Regions from separate parts of the Homo sapiens genome. Here all the other regions are linked to region 2. The links are contacts of gene promoters, found by promoter capture Hi-C in blood cells and fetal thymus (Javierre and others, 2016). All regions are on one chromosome and are shown on one strand. The core of a region is centred on a gene start or on the middle of the fragment in contact, and the rest is flanking DNA. Distances in the headings are between cores, read along the strand shown. Region 1 overlaps LOC101929710 (a long non-coding RNA gene). Region 2 holds the start of ARSK (arylsulfatase family member K). Region 3 overlaps LOC101929710 (a long non-coding RNA gene).

The links. Contacts are between HindIII fragments. The CHiCAGO score rates a contact against its expected background, and 5 or more counts as called.
Region 1: a fragment that was not itself captured here is called in contact with the fragment with the promoter of ARSK in region 2 in 2 of 17 cell types (total B cells and naive B cells); the score reaches 6.1 in total B cells.
Region 3: a contact is called between a fragment that was not itself captured here and the fragment with the promoter of ARSK in region 2, in 1 of 17 cell types (naive CD4 T cells). The highest score is 5.2, in naive CD4 T cells.

Annotation. Positions count from the first base shown.
Region 1 is chr5:96,437,282-96,441,044 of GRCh38, reverse strand. All of the region lies in intron 4 of LOC101929710 (a long non-coding RNA gene), which reads right to left. It also overlaps a transcript of CAST not described here and the pseudogene LOC102724070. Among named protein-coding and RNA genes, the nearest start is that of PCSK1, 5.9 kb to the right of the region's middle. The HindIII fragment of the contact is 2,361 bases long and covers 1,026-3,386 here.
Region 2 is chr5:95,552,611-95,556,447 of GRCh38, reverse strand. ARSK (arylsulfatase family member K) reads right to left here and starts at 1,347. Exons shown (of 8, transcript NM_198150.3): 1 at 1,044-1,347. The coding sequence starts at 1,169. SKIC3 (SKI3 subunit of superkiller complex) reads left to right here and starts at 1,471. Exons shown (of 43, transcript NM_014639.4): 1 at 1,471-1,512. The HindIII fragment of the contact is 6,579 bases long and covers 1,272-3,837 here.
Region 3 is chr5:96,334,863-96,338,564 of GRCh38, reverse strand. The region is part of intron 3 of LOC101929710 (a long non-coding RNA gene); the gene reads right to left. All of the region lies in intron 1 of LOC107986365 (a long non-coding RNA gene), which reads right to left. It also overlaps a transcript of CAST not described here. Among named protein-coding and RNA genes, the nearest start is that of PCSK1, 97 kb to the left of the region's middle. The HindIII fragment of the contact is 2,380 bases long and covers 529-2,908 here.

The DNA.
Region 1 (3,763 bases), core at 957-3,456, 880 kb before region 2:
GGAAACCAAAGCAAAGACATGTTCAAAATGTGTCTGGATGTTCCCAGCTAATAAGTGGCAGAGCTGAGAATCAAATCCAGGTGGTCTGTTTTGAGTCTGCTCTTATATCTGTGCTTAATGCTCTTTGAAATAGTGTTCATCTAGAGTTTGGGCACAGTTTATCAAATAGTGTCAGTTCTTCCATCGACTCTTAACTAGCTTTGCAAATAAAATTAAAGCCATTGCCTCTGCCTTTTCCAGCTGTAGAGCACTAGGAAAGTAGATGCTGGATCATCAACCATTGCACCCATGAAATACTTTCCCATACCTATTTCTTTCCTAGCTTTCTTAACGCCAAACCCTGACATTTCCCCCATGTGTATGTATGGCCCTACCCTAAATGATTGAGTAATTCTGACTGGAGAGTCAGAAGAACTTGAGTAGCCTTAAACGGACCCCCTCACCCTGCTGCCATTTATCCTACCCACCTCCCCCACCCACAAGTCCATCACTTTCCCAAGTCCATGGGCTTAGAAAAAACTTTTGCTACCTGCTCCTCTCCTTGGCATGTAACAACTCAGACCTGGCCAATACATGTTTGCTTGAGTTGGGGCACCCACTGGGCTTGCTGGTCTTAGCCTCTCTCTCTTGCTGTGAGTAAACAGCTACAGCTGCAGCGTGGGTAGGTCTGAACAGTAGAGGTACAAGTCTACAGCAGGGTCCAAGGAAAGAGCTAGAGACACGGATGCTCACAGGAGACATGCAGATACCATAACTGAGTGGAATAAGGCAGGCATAAGAGAGAAGCTCCAAACCCTCAATTCTCTCTGCTATTTTCCCCTTATAGAGTTAAGGATTTCTGAACTCCATTATAAGAAAAAAAAAAAAAAAGGTGGGATAAACATAATTGCAGAAATTCATACTTTGTCTCAGTGTCTGAGAACTGTAGGGGTCACTGTTTCCAGACTAACATTTTCTAGTTTATAAAGAGAAGCCAGAAAACCAGATTTTTGTTAGCTATTTCCTGAGTTTCAGTATCAGAAGCTTACTTAGAACTTTTAAAGTAATGTGCCGTGGGCCACTTCTGCTTTAGTACCTTTGTTTTCTCTTTCAGTTTTACTGATTGTACAATTTTTTTGCCTGTCATAACTGGGATCAGGATTGGTCCCTCTTCTAACCATAATTAGGGACAATTGTTGAAGGTCTTCTTTCCTCTACTTGTTTACAACAGCTTCAAGGATTATATTATTTTAAACAACAAGCAGATTAATCCCTGTGTTCACTGGAGGGAGGTGAGAAACAAAGGGGAAGTTAGGATCAGTCCATTATTATTTATCCCTCAGTGGCACCTGCTAGAAAGCAACCCCGAGGTGACCAATTTCTTACAGTTGGTTCGGGGGTGTGAAGCCTCCACCTTTAACTGTGCCTGATGTCTCTGGGGAAAACACCCTCAGTCTCTTTGCTGGGTGACAAAGGGATAGTTTTCTGCAATAAAGAGTGATGAGGGAAGCTGGGGAAGATTGCTTTTGAAACAGACTTTAAAGCAATCTTTTTTTATTTTCCAACCTATTTGCATCCTAATGTCAAGTTATTTGGTGCCTGCCAATTCCTCAGTCATGGGGAATTCTGAGGCATAGAAAGGGTTAGTTCTTGGCTTTCCCTGCTGCTGGATTAACATTTCATTTTCTTGGGTCTGCTAAATTAGTTGCTTTTTTGCTTTCATAATTTTTTGTGATTGCTTCTACTCCTGTTCTCCCCATTTCATAAGTTTATGTCCTTAAAAAAATCCCTTCTTTGTAGTTTTTGAGGGGTTTTAGTGGGGCATGAAAGGAGACACATATATTTAATCAACCAACTTTACCTGAAAGTATAGTAGCCAAACAAATAGATACACTCTAAGTGTCTTCCGTTACTTGATAAGTTGAAGTATACTTAACACATTTAATGGAAAGCTATGCAACCATTATAAATTATGCCAGTGAACAGTTATTGACATGGAAATATATCAGTATATTAAGTGGAAAGTGATAGGTTAATAGCATTAATAATAGTAGCAAACTAAGCGATTTCTCTGTCCTCACCCTTCTGCTAAGTATCTTAAATGGATTATTTCACTTAATCTCACAGAAAAATCTCCTGACATGTGGAATGAGAAGTTATGAATATCACAAACATAAATGTCTATGAAAGTAAAATTATTTTCATTTTCTCCAAAAATATAAATTTGGAGAGTATTACTACATTATGGCTCTCTGCATCATGAGTTTGTCAATAATTTTTACACCGAAATATTATTTTTCAAATAGTAACTTTACAGTGGAGAAATCTGGTTGATATGATACCATCTTAACCAAGTGATCAGAGATAACATCACTAGTAATTAGACATATGGACACCATGTACCTCCTGATACAAGTCAATGAAAATGACATAACATCACTTATTCCTACAAATGTTTAATCCCAGCCTAATCATTAGAAAACACCAGACAAACCAAAATTAAGGACCATAATATAAAATAACTGAATAGTACTCCTCAAAAGTTTTAAGGTTGTGAGAGACAAAGATAAAATATCCCAGTTTGGAGGAGACATAATAACCAAATGCAATAGGGAGTCTTAATTGAATACTGGACCATAAAAGAAGATATACTAATAGAACAGTTGGAAAAATATAAAGGTCTATAAATGAGTTAAGAATATTGTATCAATGTTAATGTTTTGGTTTAGCTAATAGTAATATGGTTACACCAGATGTAAACCCCAGGGAAAGCTGCATGAACGGTATACACAAGTTTTGTGTACTGTTTTTTCTTAATTTTCTGTAACTATAAAGTTATTTCAAAATAAAAAGTTGGAAAAATAAATTATCTTTTTTTAGTTGGCCAACTATACTATATTCTATTCTGGGTGCCACATTTAAAAAATTCTATTGAAAGACCCTATCCGGACAAGAGCAAGCAGAATGCCAAAGTGTTAAAAAGGTTGGGGATGTTTAACCTAGAGCAGAAAAAAGTTAGGCAAGATATAACAATCTGCCTTCGAAGTATGAATTGCTATCATGTATAAAAGAGATTGAGACTTGTCAGTGTGGTACTAGAGGGCAAAATTAGCATGCTTGACTGGAGGTAGTAATGAGGAAAGGTTTTATAATATCATTATAAGGAAGGACTTTGTAACCATTTCAGCCAATCCAAACCAAAGAATGGGTTGCTTTGGGAGACCAGGAATTGCCTAACAACTTGTTAAAAAATATCACAGAGGAGTGTCATGTATACCAGGCATGTTAAGTAGATCAGTGCGTCTCAAACTTTAATTGCGTATGAATCACTACGGACTCATTAACAATGCAGATTCTGATTCAGTAGTTCTGGGGTGGGGGCTGAGGGTCTGCATTTCTAACAAGCTTCCAAGTGATGCCTATAATGCTGGTATGTGGACAAGACTTTGAGAAGCAAGGAGCTGTATAATATTCAAGGTCACTTTTCAATACTAAAGTCTATAATTCTCATAGAAAGACATACTTCAGGAGCAGAGACAGCAGTTATGCACTGAGAGTTTAATACGAAAATGGCAATGTTTGAGAGCACAGAGGAAGCAAGAGCATTGCCTGCAAGCAGAAGCAGGGATGCTCTGCAACTCACTCAGTAAATGCATATTTTAAAAGAACCTGTTAAAGAAAGAACCTAAATACTTGTATATGGCCACATTTAATTATCCATTTTCATTAGAAAAGATCAATTATTTCTAGCAAGTGGAATTTATGGCACTCACTGCTTCCATTT
Region 2 (3,837 bases), core at 98-2,597:
GCACCATACTAGTTTGAGAACTGTCATTCATAAGATGGCAACAAAATTCAGCTTCTCCTCTGCACAATCCTGCTTCCTTCATTTGCCTTTGATTACAAGAGCACTCTGTAATAAAATGCCATCTAGTCAATTTCCAGTACTGCCCATTCTCTAAGTTTAAATCACAAAGATAACTTTAAGTAATATTTTCAAAAAATCCCATGGGCACATCCAGACTATGTAATTTTAATCATCAGGAATCTACGAGAAAGGAAATACAACATATGATTACAAACACTCTTTAGTGCCAGATATGCTTAACACCAACATCTGTGTGACCACAGTAACACCGAGTGATAATAAACTAATATTACAATTAATAACCAAACAATTGTCTAAGCAGCACTTTTTAAAACATGGATCATCCTAAAAGCATCGCGTAAGGTTGACAGTAGCACCTTTGGCTTGGGAAAGTTTCAAAAACTGTTTAAGTTTGGGATTCAGCCACATTACCAACACACACACATACACACAATTTCTCTGGAATACGGGGGAGTGAATCAAGTTATACCAACGATTCCATTTGAATCAGCACTAACAGGATTATCACAGACCTGGGTAATAAAAATAAACTTTCTTCACTTCTCACCCAAACATGAATTCCTGCAAACTTGAGGTGAACTGGAAAATGACTTTTGGAAAGCTAACACGCTTTTATGGAGATGCAGAATGTTATTTTACCACACAATTAAACCAAACGGGGGTATGGACTGAAAGTTCATTAGTCGTGGTAAAATAATTTAGCGAATCGAGGTCAGTATTAAAAAAAAAAGATCTGCAAAGATGTTTTCAGTGTTTCACTATTGTTTTACATGTTTGCATAGGTATGTGGTGTACGTGTGAGTACACGGGGCCTCACATAAAATGTATTTCTTTCTTTGCATCGGGGTAAAAGGTGTTTGAAAATGTCTCAGGTTCTGCTCCCCAAAGCCTGCAGCACAGGCGGCGGCGGTGAGGTCGCCGATCCCCAGCGGGGCGCCCCTCCCCTGCCTCGCGGTACTTACGAAGGAGTCGCTCACGACCAGCACCACATTGGGCGCTTTGGCTGCTCTCCGCCTCTGCTCCCCTGCTCCGGGGGCCAGTACCGCCAGCGCCAAGGCTGCGACCACCGACACCCACAGCAGTAGCATCGCCGGTAGCGGTTCTGAGAGCCTGCCGCCGGGCCAGCCGCCTCCCTCTGGCGTTCTCTCCCTAGCAGAGCAGGGCAGGGACAGCGAACAACTCCCAAAGCTTGCAGTTTGGTTGCTTGATAGTAACGCCGAGCTTCACCCGCAGAACTACAACTCCTATCAGGCGGAGAGCGCGCACATGCGCAACAGAGAAATTCCCGCTTTTACCCACGTTAAGACCTTTTAATCAAATACCGAGCAAATCAGAACCCAGCCACTTCCAGTCACGTGAATGAGTCCTGGGAAAGGCGCATGCGCTCTCATTGCAGCCTCGGCGTTTGTAGAAGAGGAGCATCTGCTCCAGGTGGGTTTGGATTTCTGTCGGTTTTGCACAAGGGATCCTAAAGGCGATTGAAATGGTACTTAGAGAAAGAAAGGATCGGGGCCGGGGCTGTTCATTTTGGGCCGCGCAAGCGTGGCTGAGTGTTCGGCGAGAGCGTGAACTGGGCGGCGATGAGGTGGCGGCGCGGCTGTCACTTAAGTTGAATAGGGCGGTGCCTTGTGGGGCCTCTGGGTGGACCGCCTCAGGTGCGCCGTGAATGCCTTAGACCCCCCCGAATACCTTCCCAGGGAAATCTCTAGCCTGTCTCATCTTATTGCTTCTCTTACCCCGTGCAGTCAGGATTTACTGTGCTCCCATGGGGCGAGGAGCGGGGCCTAGTAAGAAGTTTCAGGCTGTAGGCAGGGGAAAGCATAGCTGTTCCTTGCCTTCAGAGAGCAAAGGAGATAAGCGAAACTGGAGGGGGAAATGGGCTGTGTGACATGTTCAGTTAGTTGACGTAGGTTCAGAATATCATTGTTTTGCTGCAGAATAAAAACCGGTCTCTTTTGACTGTTGAATTCCTTTGGAGAGTTCTGGAAGAAGCAGATTTCTGTCCCAAAGCCAAATTCCAATTTCTGTATCTAGTTTCGGGTATATAATTTGCACATCACACTAGTAGTTTTAATATTCTGACAGTTAAAAGAGGAGTTATACTACTTACTTAAGTCAACTGAATACTAATATCTGGCAGGTTTTTTTTTGCCTAAGATAATTGTAGTAAGGAACAGATTTGTTTATTTAATACTCACATGGCACTTAGGTGCTGAGCGTTATACTAAGCATTTACTGAGCATCTGCTGCGTGCCACGTACTTTTATATGGAATATTTTCTATAATCCTCACTTTCACCATATTGCAGATAGGAAAACAGGCTTAGAGAGGTTAAATGACTGGCCTGAGTTTACACAGGGAGCCAGTCAGAGCACGACTGAAAATTGAAGAGTCTGTGCCGTAACTCACTAAATGCTCTGTCTGCAGTTAGTTTATCTGTTAGTGTAGCAGAATTGTTACTCAAGCAGCATGATAAAGATCTGCGGGAGCATGCAAAAACGTAAACAGTGTTGGGCGCGGTGGCTCACGCCTGTAATCCCAGCACTTTGGGAAGCCGAGACGGGCGGATCACCGAAGGTTAGGGGTTCGAGACCAGCCTGGCCAGCATGGTGAAACCCCGTCTCTACGAAAAATACGCAAAATACTGGGCGTGGTGGCGGGCGCCTGTAATCCCAGCTACTAGGGAGGCTGAGGCAGGAGAATCACTTGAACCCAGGAGGTGGAGGTTGCAGTGAGCTGAGATCGCACCTTTGCACTCCGCCTGGGCAACAAGAGCAAAACTCCATCTCAAAAAAAAAACAAAAACAAAAAAACCCCTAAACAATAGTCTCAGTTTACATGAGTTTAGATTTCAGGGAAGCAAAACCAAGCATACATGAAATAATAATACAGCACGGAAGGTAATACAAGTGGGCTCTCTCATAAAAACAAATTTGTTTTGAGTTAATTTGGAATGTAGAACGTATTTTCTACCATAGTGACAATATTGACTGACATTTAAATTCATAAAAGTTATATTTAATTTTGTGTCTGATTCCATAAACTGTGCTTACTCTCTACAGCCTTGTTTCCACAGGACATGTACTCTGATGACAGGCTTACAAGAATACATCTTTTTCTTCTTTCTCCCCTTGGCAGTGTCAATAGGAGCAGGTGCTGCAGTGATTTGGAGCAAGACAGATATTTTAGAGCCTTAGAGACGTTGTGCTGGAAGAATCTAAGAGGCTTCTAGTCCTACTTCCCATCTGACATTCAGTTTATCCTAAAACATTCCTGCTGAGTGGATTGTCCAGCCTGTGCTTTTTCATCTCCAGTGATGGGAAACACTTCCATTGAGTACCTCATTCCACATTTATATAGGTCTCATTAAAAGTTCCTATTTTAAGTTGAAGTTAATCTTCCTCTATTTTTAACCATTCATTAGTGCATTTTTCTTCACTTTTACATGGATAATCTCTCCCTTTCAACAGTCCTTCCCCCAACTCCCTCGCCACCATTTATTTATTTTTCCTAGTCCCCAGTTTCTTCAGCTAGTTCTCATAATTTCAGGTTTCCTCATTGTTTTGATTACTCTTTTGTGAACGTACAACATTTTTGCTAATCAGTAATTCTATGCTATCAGAAAAGGTACTCAAGAGAATGTAACCATTTGCCTCACTGCCTACTTCCCTCCCGCCATTTTTCACTCCTGCATGCTCTCCTCTAGAATACTGAGTTCCGAAAGCCCTCTTTGGAAAGTGTGGGTCACAGATGCTT
Region 3 (3,702 bases), core at 469-2,968, 780 kb before region 2:
TTGGGGGGAGAAGTGATGTGATCAACTTTTCCCACTCCAGACTCAGAGTTCAATACTTTCTATTATCTAAATATACCTGTTTAGGCCTTGTGAGTTACCTATATTGTAACCACTACCTACAGAAATTTACAAGTTCTAATAATACCATAAACAAGGATTACAAAGGAAGAAGGAAGGAAAGAATAGGATAATAAATGAAGCAAAGTATGAAGAAAGCAGAAGTAAAACAGCATAAGGCAGCATATAGCATTAAGTCATAAGTCAAAAAACGATGCAGAGTTTTTGAAACTCTCAAGAATATTTGAAACTGAAATTTGAAGTGCATAAATGCATTTGAAATATGAAAGCAGAATAAAAATAGGTTTGTTGTTTTGTTTGTTGAACGTTTCAACCTAACAGAAGATGATGACAGAACTTCTTAATGATTATGGTCTAACAATTGTTGTGTCATAACTTTCAGGAATAAAAACATGGACACTGTTAGTAAAGTCAAGTCTATTTACTCCTTTCATTTCTCATTCCAAAGCTTTCATCCTAGCTGTGCCTCCAGCAAGGAATGCTGGATAGAGTAGGCTAAGACAGAAAAAAAAAATTAAAAGTTTTCCTTAGCTATAGAAACATAAGGAAAAATTTCAAGTACTAATGTTTTATATGTGTTCAAAATGTTAGAGGTATTCTGTTAGGTTCATGTCTTTGCTAATGCCCAGAGGACTTTGTAAAGACAGACAGTAAACTAATGAAGAGAGAAGTAAAACCATTGATTTGATGTCAGAAATCAAGTCCAAAGATGTCCAGATTTGTAATGAAGAAAAAGGTTCAGGTTGCTGGATTCCCAGCACAGCAGTCCAGCTTTGAACTTGGAGGAGGTAGATGCCAAAGAGGACATTAACATTGAACTCCACAGAAGTGAGCATCATAACCATGGTGCACAGATGTGGCTACCTGCATTACAGAAGATCCAGCTGGTGTCCCCAGATCCCTCCAAACATGTGTGGAATCACAGGAATTCAGACGTCTTGTTTCCTAGCTACTGTGTCCTGAGCTTTGCGGCATCTTACTTCCAGTGTTACTACGGACATAAATGGTGTCCTAATATTTTTTCCCTTTCTTCAGTGTACTATGAAGTTCAATGTCAATTGACATAGTACCATAATAAAGTACATAAAATATAATTTTACCTATAATTCTTTAGTATTATATGAGCATACAGAGACCATAGTTGGTTCTTACCATTAAATGAAAGACTTCCTTTTTTTTCTCTCTTGATTGAAAATAGAAAAGGGGAAACCAGGCTAAAAGGGGTTTGGGTCAGAGCTTAATGGCATATTAGGGTGTCTATGGGTGTGTGTGTGTGGTTGTGTGATTCATTTCCACTCTCATGTCAGAAGAGACCCTTGGAATCAGAGTAAGTTTTACTTTGTTTTAGCTCAGTTTCGCTTTCAGGGTTCTATGATATCAGGGTTAAATTCATCCATTTAAATTGCAAGCCCAAATGTTTTCCAAGTGTCTTTTTTTCAAATATGTTTCATCTAACATTGTAAAGATCAAACGTAAACTCCTAGCTTCTGCAAAACAGCTCTTACCCCAGGGTCTTCCATATTAAATATTTACTGAATTAATGAAACTCTTCCCAGTTTTACTCCTAAAACATACTTTCTGGTGATTCACAGTTTTGAAGTGTGATCTTCTACTACTTGATTAACAGACATGAAATCTAAGTCCTCAGATATTAAAGGAAGAACCGGGACTAAAAGTCACATCTCCTGACTCCAAATTGAGTGTTTTGAGGTCCATCACATGCTTTACCCCAAATCTCTATTCCCAAAGTAAATTAAAAATGTGTGACTCAGAATTAGACATCTGGAAAAGCATTTTGGGGACAAAGAACAGTAATAGTAAATGTCTACAGCAAAACCTCACAAGAAACTGCAGAATGCCTTAACACTGTGGGTTTGATGTGCTCCTTCCAATGGGAACCTCTAGAGGGCAGTCCACTCTTCATAACAGACAAGTTCTGCCGGGTTTACAAGAACTCTGGGAGCGAAAAATCTAAAATGTTTGGCATACTTTCTAACAGCTTTCAATCAAACAGGGCACACAAATATCTCAGGCCCAGTCCAATTTTTGGCTGCGTTGGAGAAGAACGCGACTTAACTATGTATTTAGCTATGGGTTTTTTCTCTTTTTCCCTCTCTCCCTAAGCATGAAGGCTCTAATGTTTAATATGAAATGAACTTGAAACTTCCCTTATAATACTAACCTAATACACTGGAGTAAAACATATTTATTGGTAAATGTGCAAGTAAAGAACAGAAAGAGAACAGAAGACTTGCAGAGAACTACTGCCGGTTGAGAGTTGGAGTCAAAATAGGGGGCAGCGGGTGGTAGGAGCTAAGGTTTAAGAGATAGACAAGGGACAGCCCCAGGAAAGGAGGTTGAATTTCCTTGTGTAGATTCAGAATGACTTTAGCAAGAGAAGGACTGGGTCAGATTACTGTTTTGTATATGAATCATTCAGGTAGCTCTGGAGAGAGAATGGAGTGGGCCAGGTCTAGAAACCAGGAAGCCAATTGAGAGACTGTTATATTGGTCCAGTTAAAAGAAGGTGCATTTGAGATAGGGTAGTGGTGGTAGGAGTGGAGTTGAGAGGATGGGTTTGAGAAATGCATAGGAGGGGAAAACATCAGGATGTAATGATCAGTTGGATAAAGGGAGTGAGGAGAAGAAAAAAGTCAAGGCAGACATTTTATAACTTTTGTCACTGGGTAAAGAGAAGGTAACAGAACAAATAGAGGTTTAGGTTGGAGGGAAGTGATACATGTAGCTTTTGAGCAATTGAATCCGAAATGTCTGAAGAGTGCCCAAGAAAAGCTGCCTAGCAGGTGATGGAATTGGTGAGCCTAAAGCTTGGGGGAGAAATTGGAGATGGAGATTGAACTAGACAGTCATTACTATACAGATGGTAGCTGAAATCCTGAGTGTAGAAAAATCCACCCAAGAAGAGTATCAGTAATGAGAAGAGCGGTAGGCTAAAACAGAAAGGTAGGTAACCCCAGCATGTGGGTGGTAGATGGAGGGAGAGGAGACCATGGTTGGGAAAGAACAGAAACAAATGAGGCAAGCTGAGAGAATATAATATGACTATCATAGAGAGTGAGTGGTGCACACAAGCAACATGGCCAAATGCCCCAGAAACATACAGTGAGACAAAGATTGGAAAATGTCCACTGAATTTTCCAGCTACAATATGGGTGGCCTTACCAAAAGCAGAAGCCAGATTGCAGGGGATGCAGAGTGAATGGCACATGAAGTGGTCACACTGAGTATAGGTAACTCTTTAAAGATGTTTGGATGAAATAGAAGAAGAGATAGGACATCACTAAGAGGACATGGGGGTCAAAGGTAGACTTCTTTTTTAATGAATGGGAAGGAGATGAGTAAGCTTGTAGTCTGAAGAGGACATACCCCTGCAAGAGGAAAGGTGGATGTTTCAAGAGGGAGGATGGCTGTGGAACCTGGTCTTGGCATGTGTAACTGGGGTCGGCCTTGAACAAAAGGAGACAATGCATCTTCTGAAATTGGAGGACGATAATGCAGGGTGTGAGTGGAGCTCTGTTCCTAGGCATGGGTGAGGCAAGAAATGGAAGGCGCTCATGCTCATTTGCCTCTATAGCAGGATAATGAATTTAGATATCATTTTTG